Regions from separate parts of the Homo sapiens genome. Here all the other regions are linked to region 3. Evidence: promoter capture Hi-C in 16 types of primary human blood cells and fetal thymus (Javierre and others, 2016). All regions are on one chromosome and are shown on one strand. Each heading gives the region's core, a stretch centred on a gene start or on the middle of the fragment in contact. The rest is flanking DNA. Distances are from core to core; before and after follow the strand shown.

Region 1 (4,266 bases), core at 1,170-3,669, 300 kb before region 3:
TGTCGGCCAGGCTGGTCTCGAACTCCTGACCTCAAGTGATCTGCCTGCCTCAGCCTCCCAAAGTGCTGGGATTGCAGGCATGAACCAACATGCCCCGCCTTTAGTTCATTTCTTACTACTCCTCCTTATTCATTCATCACTTCAGCCAAACTGAGCTGCTTGTCTTTTCCCACACGTGCTTGTAATTTCCTACCTCTAAGCTTTTGTACATGTTAGCTGCTCCGTTTAAAAACGCCCATTTTCATTCTGACCACTTTTAAGATGCTCAATCTCATCGCATCATGGTGTTGACAGTTGTCAGGGGACAAGACTGGCTCCTAGGAACCCTCAACTGATAAAATTCTCTATCTCAGTACACTTACCTTGCTGTCCAGGGGCTGGCCTCCAGCCTGTAGTCCAAGAACCTGGGTTTGACAGTCCACTGAGAATCCATCCTACATACCCTAAGCAAATTCACAAGGCTGAAGTGTAAATGCCAACTCAACATTTGAATATATTTATCAGTTCATGTTCTCTGAAAGTTAACCCATTTACTGATTTACAATAAGAAAGTTATTTCACAGAGCTACAACTCCTACAAACCTTTCTGCAGTAGGGATGCCTTTGTCAAAGGGACCAGTGTGGTGTCTTAAATTCTCTCTTACAAGGAAGTAAAACCAGATAACTAGAAAAAATATGTGCCTCTTTGACTTTCCTTTTTCTTTGCTTTCTTGGCTAATAAGTCATCACTTTGATTGGCACATTCTTTCTTATCTTTCAAGGAGCAATTTTCCCCTCTGATTTCCTTCTTAGAGCTCATATCACTGTTTTCCCAAGCACTGACAACACAGTATAAGTCAAAATAAGATTTTTTATTGAAAAAAGTTTGCTTAGACTGGGTGCAGTGGCTCACACCTGTAATCCTAGCACTTTGGGAGGCCAAGGCAGGCAGATCACCTGAGGTCAGGAGTTCGAGTTCAGCCCGGCCAAAATGATGAAATCCCGTCTCTACTAAAAATACAAAAATTAGCCAGGTGTGGTGGTGGGCACCTGTAATCCCTGGTACTTGGGAGGCTGAGGCAGGAGAATTGCTTGAACCCAGGAGGCGGAGGTTGCAGTGAGCAGTGATTGCACCACTACAATCCAGCCTGGGCAACAGAGCAAGACTCAACCTCAAAAAAAAAAAAAAAAGAAAGAAAAAAGTTATAGTTATGGCAGTAAACTTATATGGAATTGTAGTAAAAAACACACCATATAGAATTAGAAGACCTGGGTTTCATGCCCAGTGAACCTCTATGGGACTGTCTACTCAGCACCCCCTTTTCCTTTCTTCTGGAGCTTTTCCTCCCTCACCACTCCCATAGCTTGTTTAACTCATCCTTGAATTTCATGACCAATCACTACCTTTTTCCTAAGCAATTCAACCTGAGTCTCAACCACTTATAATAAAAACAAACATATTTTCATATACAGCTTCCATTTCCTCACTTATAAAATGAGAATAATATTTATTTCCTATAATTTTTATCAGATTTACATGAGATAAAGAATTTTTAAAGTGCTACTCAAAATTGCTATGATATTATGTTATATGTACCTCATATATTTATTCTCAGAACTGTATTCATAATCCCTTGTATTCAATTCATTTTCTATGGAGCCAGTAAAAGGCATTACACTTTCAAGGACATGACTGGCTGCTTTTCTCATAATCATGTGGATGAAATGCTATAGAGCAATACTTATTTTATATTCTGGTATTTAAAAAAATATATGTTGTTAAGGGTGCTTATTTTTTCCTTTTTCTGTGTTGTATTTTTAGTGATCTATCAGCCATTTCTTTTATATTTAGGTTTATGAAAAAAGTAAAAGGACAAGCTTACTGGCAAAACTATATATACCTTTACCTAACTACACAGAGCTGAAAGGCAAAACCGCTTTGCAATATGTAGAGTTTAGCTCTGATAAGCTGGTCATGCCTGCCGATGGAGAAGTAGGAAGCAGTGAGTTTATTAAAAATATTACATTCCCCCTATTTTCTTCCTGAGTACCATATTCCTAAGTGACCCTGGCTCACTCACATAAGTACAAAATCCTGTATTTACAATATTCTTTTTTGTTTGTTTGTTTGTTTGAGACAGAATCTCACCCAGGATGAAGTGCAGTGGCTCGATCTCAGCTCACTGCAACCTCCACCTCCCAGGTTCAAGCAATTCTCGTGCCTCCAGTAGCTGGGATTACAGATCCCTGCCACCACGCCCATCTAATTTTTGTATTTTTAGTAGAGACAGGGTTTCACCATTTTAACCAGGCTGGTCTCAAACTCCTGATCTCAGGTGATCCGCCCCCCTCAGCCTCCCAAAGTGCTGGGATTACAGGCGTGAGCCACCGCACCTGGCCCTGTGTTTATTCTGTTAAAAATGAATTAAATTATTCATTCAGATGTTAAACTAGATTGTTTAAAGTTTTGTCTTGGGTCAGATTTTTGGGAAATTTCAAATGAGCAGTTAGCACCCACGCTTTTTGCAGGCCATCCAAGGCAAGGACAGAATGCTGTCTGGAAAGCAAGCTCTGCTTTTGAGTGGGCTGGCTGCTCTGCCTCGACCTCTCCTTTAGTGAACCTACAGGTGCTCGCAGACATATGGGTTTGTCTTTGAACTGTATAGGGAAGGGAAGAAGAAAATGAGGGAGGGAAGGAAAGAGGGAGGGACAGAGAAAAGGAGAGAAGAAAGAAGGGATGTTTCTGTTAGTTGTTTTTCAATTGATTTTACTCCTCTTATACGGTTAAATGTAAGTTAGTGCGTCTCTGAGATCACTGTCATTCCTCTCCTTCTCCCCATTATTCCTTTCTTTCACCTTCCTAGGGGTTTGGAAACTACTTGGGCCTATTTGGTGAAAAGTAAGGAAGTATGAACAAGTGAGCAAGGAGGAGGGGGCGGGGGGAAATGGGCAGAGAACGAGGGAAGAACGGAGTTTGCTTCAAGTCCAGATGAAGCAGAAAAATAAGCTTATGGAGACCCGGGACAAAAGACTCAGGACTCAAAAAATTTAGGGAACACTGTGCACTCAGCAAAAGTTTTAAGAAGTATTGTTAAACTCTTTGGAGATTAGATGCAGAAGACTTGGGAATGTAAGGAAAGAGGAGAAAGAACAGCTTGCTGGCCTCTTTTTCTGCTGCCAATGGTCCTTTCTTGCTGGAAGCCACTCCCACAGAGAATGGTTAAGAAGCCTCCAGGCATGAAAGGAAGAAAATCATGATATTCATCTCTACATATTCATCTCAATCTTTACCTTCTCTTTTGTAGTCCTTGAAGGATCTTAGAGAGGAGATGAGGGAGAGCACTAAGATAAGAGTGGAGTTAGGGCCGGGCGTGGTGGCTCACACCTGTAATCCTAGCACTTTGGGAGGCCCAGGCAGGTGGATCACCTCAGGTCAGGAGTTCGAGACCAGCCTGGCCAACATGGTAAAACCCCATCTCTACTAAAAAATACAAAAAATTAGCCAGGCATGGTGGTTGACACCTGTAATCCCAGCTACTTGGGAGCCTGAGGCAGGAGAATCATTTGAACCCAGGAGGTGGAGGTTGCAGGGAGCTGAGATTGCCCCACTTTACTCCAGCCTGGGCATCAAGAGCAAAACTCTGTCTCAAAAAAAAAAAAAAAAAAAGAGTGGGGTTAGCACAGATCTTCCTTTGTGTTCCTAGAGTTCCACAAGTAAAACTCAGGAAAAAACCCACAATGTGCTTCAACTGCACTTAAAACAATTCATATGTTTTTAATGCCTTTTATAAACAGATGTGCCTTTTCTTCTTGAGGGAAATGGAACTGAAGAACTCTGTCTTTTGACATCAGGAAAACTTAGCTATTCTCTATCATGGAGCTTAGATGAAAATGGTCTTCCTCTGATACCTATGCCACAATCATTAAGATCTTCTTACTGCAGGTAATAAACTTTTATCTTTGAAAAATAATGCCAGGTCTCAGCAAAGCATCACACAAAACATATTATGTGTAAAAGAGAAAACTTGAGCAGCAATAGGAAGAGTTTAGTCTATTTGAATGTTGATTTATCTTTTATTTAAATCACTCTACTAAGGCAGTATGTGTATTTATATGTAAGAGAATGTGTCCCTTCAGTGCTTGGAATTATAGCCACACAGATGATGAGAGAGGCATTCCCAGAGTCCCTCACTTGTAGGCAAAGGTCAAGACTCCCAGGGACTTTATTTCTGGGGCCTGTATATCTCCCAGTCATTCTGGATTAGCAAAGAATCATTTATGCATTAT
Region 2 (4,493 bases), core at 75-2,574, 270 kb before region 3:
GCTGGTGGATGCCTGTAATCCCAGCTACTTGGGAGGCTGAGGCAGGAGAATCGCTTGAACTCAGGAGGAGGAGGTTGCAGTGAACAGAGATCGCGCCACTGCACTCCAGCCTGGGCGACAGAAGGAGACTCCGTCTCAAAGAAAAAAACAAAAAACAAACAAAAAAACCTTCAGAGAAACATCTAGAATAATGTTTGACCAAATATCTAGAAACTGTGTCTCAGCCCAGTTGACACATAAAATTAGCCATCATAGTCATATAGTTGGAATCATACAGTATGGAGCCATTTCAGATTGGCTTTCTTCCATGAAAAACATGCCTGTCAAGTTTTCTCCATGTCTTTTTATAGCTTGATTGCTTACTTCTTTTTACCCCTGCATAATATTCTATTATATGGATGTATCACAGTTTACTTATTTATCCACATTGAGCTTCTTTCCATAGGTTCATTGGTCATTGGTATTTTCTTTTCTGTGAAATGACCTTTCATTACTTTTGTCTGTTTTTCTTTTTTTTTTCTTTTTGGAAATTATTTTATTTCTTCCATGATGATTTAGAGGGACTATCTTCAAACCAGTACAAATATTTCATAAATAATATCTGACTGTTTTCTAACCAATTGAGTAATTTGTTGCACAATAAGCCACCTCACATCTAAGCAAGAAATACATTAAATTTGACTAGTAAAGACATTATATAATGCATTAGGACACAATTAAAATTTGCTTTAAATATTTATTTGAGAGAGAGGACACCACACTTCTTCTCAATGAAGAGAAACATTTTTACAGTCCAGAGGTCTTTTTTTTTTTTTTTTTTTTAACACCAATTATGCCATGACTTTATAGGGAGTAGGTTCCAGCAGCTCAGGCTCCTTCCCATTGGGTCTCACAAAGGGTGCTTCTCTGGGTGAAGCAGGCTGGCACTTCAGTTGAACCCAGGTACCTTTCTCTCTGGCTTCTTTTTCTGATCATTTTCCTTCACGTGTTTCGGGAAGCTATCTCAGCTCTTAGAGCACTTATGTGCTCAATACACACATTAATTCTCTTGGCAAGAATCTTGCCCTTCTTTGTTTACAACAATGCCAACAGCATGTTGGGTAACATTGTAGACTCTTCCAGTTTTGCCGTGGTAACACCTGTGGGCATTCCTTTTTAAACAATATCCATTCTCTTGATGTCTACAATATCACCTTTCTTATAGATTCGCATATACATGGCCAAAGGAACAACTCCATGTTTTCTAAAAGGCCTAGAGAACATACATCAGGTGCCTTTCTTCTTTTCCTTTGCGTTCATCATTTTGGCGAATTACTGGAAGATGGCTGCTCCAGCCGAAAGGATACTTTTCTCTATTTTTCTATTGTTTCGTCTGTCTTTATTTATTTATAATAAATAAATAAATAAATAAATAAAATGTATTTATATATTTATCTTTGAGGCGGAGTCTTGCTCTGTCGCCCAGGCTGGAGTGCAGTGGCGCGATCTGGGCTCACTGCAAGCTCTGCCTCCCAGGTTCGAACCATTCTCCTGCCTCAGCCTCCCGAGTAGCTGGGACTACAGGTGCCTGCCACCACGCCCAGCTAATTTATTTGTATTTTTGATAGAGACAGGGTTTCACCATGTTAGTCAGGATGGTATTGATCTCCTGACCTCATGATCCTCCCGCCTCGGCCTCCCAAAGTGCTGGGATTACAGGTGTGAGCCACCGTGCCCGGCCTGTCTTTATTTTTTTTAAAGCAATTCTCTATATATTATGGATACCAGCCCTTTGTGAGTTATATGTGTTAAAACTATCTTTCCCTAATGGCTTGACTTTTCATTTTCTTTATGATGCATTTTGATGAAAAGAAGTTTTAAACTGTACCAGTCCTTTCCTTTATGGTATGTCCTTTTAAAAAAATCTTCTTTAATAAATAGTGGTCTTCCTTTACTTTCCTTACTTTAGAACATATGTCAACTTGCATTAAAATTTTAGACCATCGCATTTTCTGAAGAATGAGTGAGGATATCTTTTTCAATAACATTCCTGTATATAAAAGTATTTTTAGTTAAAATAGTTAATAAATCAGATTTTTAAATCCAAAAAGAAATATACACCTATGTTCCTGCTTGCTACCAAGAAGGAATAAAACAGATATAGACTAGAATAATCCTTTATGTGGTGTTTAGGGACACACACATACACACACACACAGACCCAGTAAAATGGATCTAATTCCATTGCCACTTCCTTTAGTATTGCTATGCTTTACTGCTGGGTATAAATTTCTCTCATGAGCAGGTATGTGTAGCTATTAAACATCTAAACATTTTTTCAAATAATATGTTTCTTTTTATTTTGAAAGGTGGGAAAATTTACTTCTTATTCATACACATAGAGCAGGATTGTCGTGGATTAGCCATCATTTTATATTTTTTTATAATTTATTTTCTATAATTTCCTACGAATATTTTATATTTCATGTTTTCATCGTTTATATGATTTTATAGGATTTCTATGCTTTATCTGAAGCCTATGTTAATATATAACCCCACTAACAAAGGCTAAAGGAACTCAGAAGAACCGATATAATCACTTGCATATATGTGATGACATCTTGGAGGCTATATAAACATTCACATCCCAGCCACCCCTTCTGAAAGTGAAAGGCTTCAGATCCTAAACAGGATTTGCAAGGAAAGGGAGACCCTGTTTATGCCATTATTTCAAATTAGGGGTAGGGGAACTATAAGGAAGCACACCTTAGAATTTTGTTAGCTTAGATACTATGGAACTTCTGCTATTAGCAGAAATCAAATTTGTTCTTCCAGATTCAACATAGGCTCAATTATATTTTCAGAGTCATTGGCCAGAGTTCCTAAACAGATATTCTTGTTATTTGGCTGCCTGTCTGAATCTTGTACCTCTCACTTTGCCTTGTTTTCTGACACTTGCTTTCTTGAACTATTTATTCTTTGTGTGTGAAGGAAATTATTGACTTAAAGGGAAATCTGTTATATAATATTGTATAATATCAAGTTAAATAATTAACATATAAAATGTATTTGTTTGAAAAGTTTGTAAATGTAAAATGTGTGGTCATGTGTGTTTGCAAATATTTGGAATATTAATGTAGACATTAGAGTTAGAAGAAATATACTGTATTAAATAAATTTAGGAGAACATAAAACAGTCAATAAGATACATAAACTTATAAGTGAACTAATGAGAAGACTTGGGAGTGTTTACATCCTTGCAATTATAGCAGTGAAATAGGCCAAGAACAATGTAGAGCACAACCAAGTGGATCAGAGGCTTTGGATAAGGCAAAACCATCCAGCTACTACTTTTTGTTGCCTCTGATACAAGACCCCAACTCCCCTCTTCTTGTGACATTTTAGTGAATAAAAACCACAAGCAAATGGATAAGTAGTCATAATAAATAATATTTATAAGTAATAAATAATATTAAATAATTAGCTCCATAAGCCCTTTCTGGGGGAAGAATTATGGTAACATCTGAAGAACATTTTAACAGAATACAGAATGCAAAATAATGCAGAAGGACTTAAGTGATGTCAGGAATATACTAAGTTAACAAGCTAAAAAATGTTGTAAGGATGACAGTTGTTCTTTCTCCTGCTAGCACAATGTTGTAAATAAATATTGCCTGCCCCGCCCTTTCTTAGATTCTGGCAACATGAAAGGAAATCCTTGAGGAACAAAGTAGGGGAGTCAGCTAGTTATTTTATCACTAGGAAATATAAGGAAACTTCCACTTAAAATTGTTCTCTAAACTCAACTAGCATTTTTCAATCATCATTGCTTGTAGGCTTCAGAAAGTTAGAGAAGCTGTTGAAGATCCTTTGAAATAGTGGTTGCTTCCTTAAGCAACAAGATTCAACAAGTAATGTCAGTGGCAGCTGTATAATGAAAAGACCTGGTCTTTGGAGTTTGTTAGAACCGGGTCCAGCCAAGTGTGGTGGTACAGCCTGTAGGCCCAGCTACTCGAGAGGCTGAGGTAGGAGGATCACTTGAGCCCAGGAGTTCAAGATCAGCCTGGGAAAGATAGACCCTGTCTCAAAAAATAAATAAATATATATATATATATATATATAGAAATAAATAAACTAAATAAAAATATTAAAAAGAAGAAAAGCTATGTCCAGATCAGGCTCTGTGATTTGCTGGTGGCATTACCTTGAGTAAGTTATTTAACTTCTGTGAGCTTCAGTTTCTCTGTGTAAAGTAACCTATTGTACAGGATTGAGATTTCCATCACTGTTAAATGTTTGATGGAGATTCAGTGCACAAACTGGAGCTGAGAGTGAAAGTTCATTGCTCATGATATACACTACCCTTTCAACTACCTCCAAAATGTACCTAATCAAGAATGCCATCAGCAGACAGCTTGCAAAATTAAATGCACTCCATTATCCCAGTTTCTGCTTGGAGAAAATTAACATGGGAAAGAGAATAAATTCCGTTATTTATTTATGTATTTATTTAG
Region 3 (4,491 bases), core at 1,081-3,580:
TATCCCATAATCTATGGTTGTATATTGCCCATCAACTACTCTGTGATCAAGCTGGACTTTGTCCCAAAGGGAGGAATCATAAAATGATTTAAGTTCTAGCACCTTTACTTAAATTCCCACCTGGATTCCCTGAAAGAGAATGCATTTCTGTATAGTTCTACATTATGGAATATGTCTGAAAACAAAAAAAAAAAAACATTTGGAATCCTCCTGTTCATTCAGAGGAAGGTGCCTAGTTAGTTTCTTTGCCATGTCTTTCTGCCCTCTCTTTCCCTCTTCCTTCTCACTGCCATGTCCCAAGTCCAGGCCTACAACCCTGGATGCTTGGGTTACTTAAGCGCTCCTCCCTCCCACCAGATCCCTGCCTCCAGTGTCCCTCCCACTCCAACGCATCCTACCAGGCTCCTTTAAGCCTACTGTCATGACATTGCTAACAGCTAACAGCATAACCTGTTCTCCAACTCCCTATGGTCAGGGCACTCACCATCCTTTGCAACCTGGACCCACCTTATTTGTCCAATCATACCAGGACCTTCAGGTCCCACATTCCCTACTCTTTAGTTTCTGCTGGACAGAAAACTCTCCTCACTATCCCACAAATGGACCGTACTTGTGTTAAGCTTTGAGTGACAGCCTCTGTATTTCCTCCCTCCCAGCACATAACATGTTTCCTCCAATTCTCCAGTATTTTATAATTTTACCCACCTCTCAAAGCCTACCTCTTAAAAGTATCTTCTCTATGAAACCTCCTCCTGCTACTCTAAGTCTCTTCTTACATTCCTTCTGTCGCTTACAGCTTCCATTGTATCACCCCCGCCCCTCATGAGGGTGTAGCTATTTGAGACCAAGGGCAAGAATGAGGTGCCTTCTTGTCCCGTCAGTGCTGATCACACAGCAGCACTCAACAGCATGTTCTTGAAATGGTTGAACACAGCTGATGTTGCCTACTGATCCCAGATCATTGATGCATTTCACATTACCTTTTACCAAGCACCTCCTAGGCATAAGACCTGTATTCTACTGTGAAGGGTTGTCCCTCTGCCAATCCAGACTTTCTCTTAAATATTGTCTCAAAAGCTTCAATTCTCTGGCTCATTGTTATCTGTGATTACTTGTCTGCTACATGTGTCACATCACCCCCTGAACATTTGGCTAAGTTCTAATATGTAGTCAGAATAGAAAACACTCCCTGAACAGAGGGGAACATCACACACCGGGGCCTGTCAAGGTGGGGGACTAGGGGAGGGAGAGAATTAGGAGAAATACCTAATGTAGATGACAGGTCGATGGGTGCAGCAAACCACCATGGGATGTGTATACCTATGTAACAAACCTGCACCTTCTGCACATGTACCCCAGAACTTAAAAGTATAATAAAAAAAAAAAACTGTTAAAAAATGTGAAAAAAAAACTGCACTCCCAGAACTTTAAAAGTTCCAGTCTCTGAAAGCCATGATGCCATTACAATGAGACAAAAAGAAGACCTTCAAAAGCAAAATTTGGGGAAGTTGTCTTTTCCATAGCTCCTTGACTCACGCCCATGGGGCCGCTTCTGGTTTATTCTTTTTGAGAGGCTTGTTATGGATATTGTTACATTGACATGAGGGCATTGGAAAGACAGATCTAATCCCCCCAAACACACTTGTCATATACACCCACAAAATAAATGAGACAATAAAACAATGAATAACAAATGATTACAGCTATCCTTAAAATTAAATAGTAACCTGCAATAAAATGGGTGAGGACTCAGTTTAGAGAAACCCTTCCTTAGAAAAGTTGGTTGCATTCAGATTCTAAAAGTTGACCTTCAGTAGAATCTAAGCCCTTGGCATTTGTTTTATTATCTTTCCAGAGCTTTACACTTTATTGTAAGAGGCAGCTAAAGCAAGTCTCTCTTGTTCCTACACATTTCTTTAAGAACTCAGTTCACTTCCCTATAGCAAGTGCCACCCAATGCTTTCCCTAAAAGCTCAGTCCACTTCCCTATAGTAAGTGCCACCCACTGGAAACTAGCAAAGCATTCCAGGATTTCAGTATTTCTGAGATGCCATAAGAGCACTGGGGGGAAAAAAAGGAGATGAAGAAGGGTATTGGGTGGGGAAAATCTTACCTCAACTTCTGACTGGCGGGGACGGTTATTTTATTAAGCTTGTCCATTCTGTTTGGTAATTGTAAGAGACACGAATAACTGTCCAGTGGTCACGTCAGCAGTTCCTGGCCCTCCTAGGGAGCAGCATGGTAAGCCTCTGGTCTCAAGGGTTCCGGCCACTCAAGTCTGATTTCTGAGAGTGCAGGCTGCTGGCAAACACCCCTGCTCTAGGGAGAAGTAAAACTTGCCCGAGCACATAGTCAAGTTTCATGTTTCTACATAATCATGTGATCTGGATAGCCAGCCAGCTTGGTGATTACTCCACTTTGTGTAAACTTTAATAATGAAACCTATTGGGCAGGCAAATTTCTTTCCAGCTGCTTTCTTTTACAATCAGATTTGTAACCAGGTTAGGACAAGTTTCTGGCTGGTCACTACTTCCTGTTTGTCCCAAACACATATAGTCTGTTTCCAGCAGGTGCATGCTATAACTGGGAACTTCCTGGGCTCAAGGAAAAGCAGAGTAATCAAGTCCATCTGAACCTCTCTTGGAGACTTTCTGCTTATTTGCATAAAGTTATGGATAAGCTTTTTCTACTTATAGAACCATTATATAAAAATGGCATTTTTGTGCTTTTTCCTACCCCCCGATGCGGGCAATACGTTTAAAAATAAATATCAGGTTGTCAGTGGCATGGTGGTAACAGTTTACTCAGAGAATTAGAGTATCTCTTTTTCTGGAGCTCTATTTAAAATGGGATGGGCAATTCTCTGTTCATCTGGGGGTAGGGATGGATGACTCAGGAAAGGGGAGATGAACTCTATCGTCAGATGTGCAGCCTCCTTATTGCCTGATAGAGTCAGGAGTTACCTCGCCGATAGCCAGATGCTTTCAAACAAACCAGGATGTACCCAAAAGTCAGATGAGAACAAATCTAACAGTTTCACAACAATGCAATTCCTACATCAGGCCATTCTGAAGTCCTAAAAGCAGAATGCCATTCCCCTCCTTGCATTTGCCTCTTTCTGTCCTGTCCACCACTTGCTCATCACACCCAGTGACACGCCAGACACGAGGCCATCTCAAGGTCAGACAGGTGGGGTGAGGCTGGGAGGAGGGAGCCATACCTGTAGGGGCTGAACCTATTCAGAGAACTCTACTTCCCTCCTGGAAGACTTTATATTTCCTTCTGCCTAATCTGAAAAATGCTGATTTACCTGTTGTTTAAAGAGCAGCCCGCAGTCCAGGGTCAAGGAGGAAGAAAATGGGAGGGAAGTGACCTTTTGTACCTGGACACACTTTTCTGCAGCCATTGAGAATGCCCTGCTCACCCTTGTGGAATAAAGTACACGTTTCCAACATTTATCAAGGGAACCAGTCTTCTCCTGGGTCAGAATACACAGCAGGACAAAGTAAAGAGCTCTCAGTTACCTCTCCTGTTGCAGACCCAAGATCTGGCTGAAGACAGTGGGGAAAGAGGAGAAGACAGAAGAGGAGAAGGAGGTGGAGGAAGAGGAGGAGGAGGAGGAGGAAGAAGCGGAGGAGGAGGAGGAAGAAGAAGCGGAGGAGGAGGAGACAGAGGAGGAGGGGGAGAAGGAACAGCGGCAGTGGTAGAGGTGGAAACCGTGGATGGATTTCTTCCCTCCTGTGCCTCTTCTTTGCACAAATGGATGTTCTGTCTTTTTCCAGGTAACCTTGATTATTCACATTCATCACTGCCTATGAATTTCTGGTTTGACCAGATGTTTAGGAGCAGAATCTTCAGAGCTGTTGAAGGGTGGGGCCCTTCTGCTTGGCCAGGACACTGACTTGGCCAGGCCAGCAAGAGAGCAGACAATGTTGCATGAGAAAAATGCAAGTGCTTGTCTCCTGCCATCATTCATTTTCCCCAATCTGGCTGCTCAATTTTCTTGCAGTGCATCCTGAAGGAGCTCTAGACCCTGCCTCCTCCTCTCCCATAGTTCCTAACTGAAAGAAACAAGTAGACTAGGATGGTAAAGGCACATACAATGTCATCAAAGATCAGGAAATTCAGGCTTCACTGAATGAAATGATAATAGTCAGCTCGTTCTTTCTGAATTATTGTAAAATGCACCCCATAAGTCACTTGACTTTTCTCTCCACCAACAACTTTGCTCAACACCTGGCTGACAACTTCATATTTCCCCAGAGAAAAAGACCAGAGGCAAAGGTTACACTTCTGCTTTTTCTTTTTACAGCCACTGGTCTTTCTTCTTTTTACTGTATTTAGTCTAACATGATGAAAATGAGAGACTGTGTTTCCAGACTGGACATTTTACCCCATGTGAAATACAGTGTGACAGCCTAATGTTCCAGGCCTGCCACAACTGCTTTGGCTTCTAAGTTGCTCCATGACTAAATGAAAATTTTAAATTAT

The links. The method cuts DNA at HindIII sites, captures the fragments that hold promoters and counts their contacts. A CHiCAGO score of 5 or more calls a contact.
Region 1: a fragment that was not itself captured here is called in contact with the fragment with the promoter of BLNK in region 3 in 1 of 17 cell types (endothelial precursors); the score reaches 5.7 in endothelial precursors.
Region 2: a contact is called between a fragment that was not itself captured here and the fragment with the promoter of BLNK in region 3, in 1 of 17 cell types (endothelial precursors). The highest score is 5.0, in endothelial precursors.

The regions. Positions count from the first base shown.
Region 1 is chr10:95,970,235-95,974,500 of GRCh38, forward strand. It overlaps CC2D2B (coiled-coil and C2 domain containing 2B), which reads left to right. Exons shown (of 35, transcript NM_001349008.3): 16 at 1,832-1,982; 17 at 3,775-3,922. The region is part of intron 2 of ENTPD1-AS1 (ENTPD1 antisense RNA 1); the gene reads right to left. Among named protein-coding and RNA genes, the nearest start is that of CC2D2B, 64 kb to the left of the region's middle. The HindIII fragment of the contact is 1,129 bases long and covers 1,856-2,984 here.
Region 2 is chr10:95,998,944-96,003,436 of GRCh38, forward strand. The region is part of intron 24 of CC2D2B (coiled-coil and C2 domain containing 2B); the gene reads left to right. The region is part of intron 2 of ENTPD1-AS1 (ENTPD1 antisense RNA 1); the gene reads right to left. It also overlaps the pseudogene RPL21P90. Among named protein-coding and RNA genes, the nearest start is that of CCNJ, 42 kb to the right of the region's middle. The HindIII fragment of the contact is 7,823 bases long and covers 1-4,493 here.
Region 3 is chr10:96,269,239-96,273,729 of GRCh38, forward strand. BLNK (B cell linker) reads right to left here and starts at 2,331. Exons shown (of 17, transcript NM_013314.4): 1 at 2,114-2,331. The coding sequence starts at 2,160. RefSeq lists enhancers at 1,077-1,196, 1,227-1,276, 3,386-3,485, 3,972-4,021, 4,152-4,211. The HindIII fragment of the contact is 529 bases long and covers 2,150-2,678 here.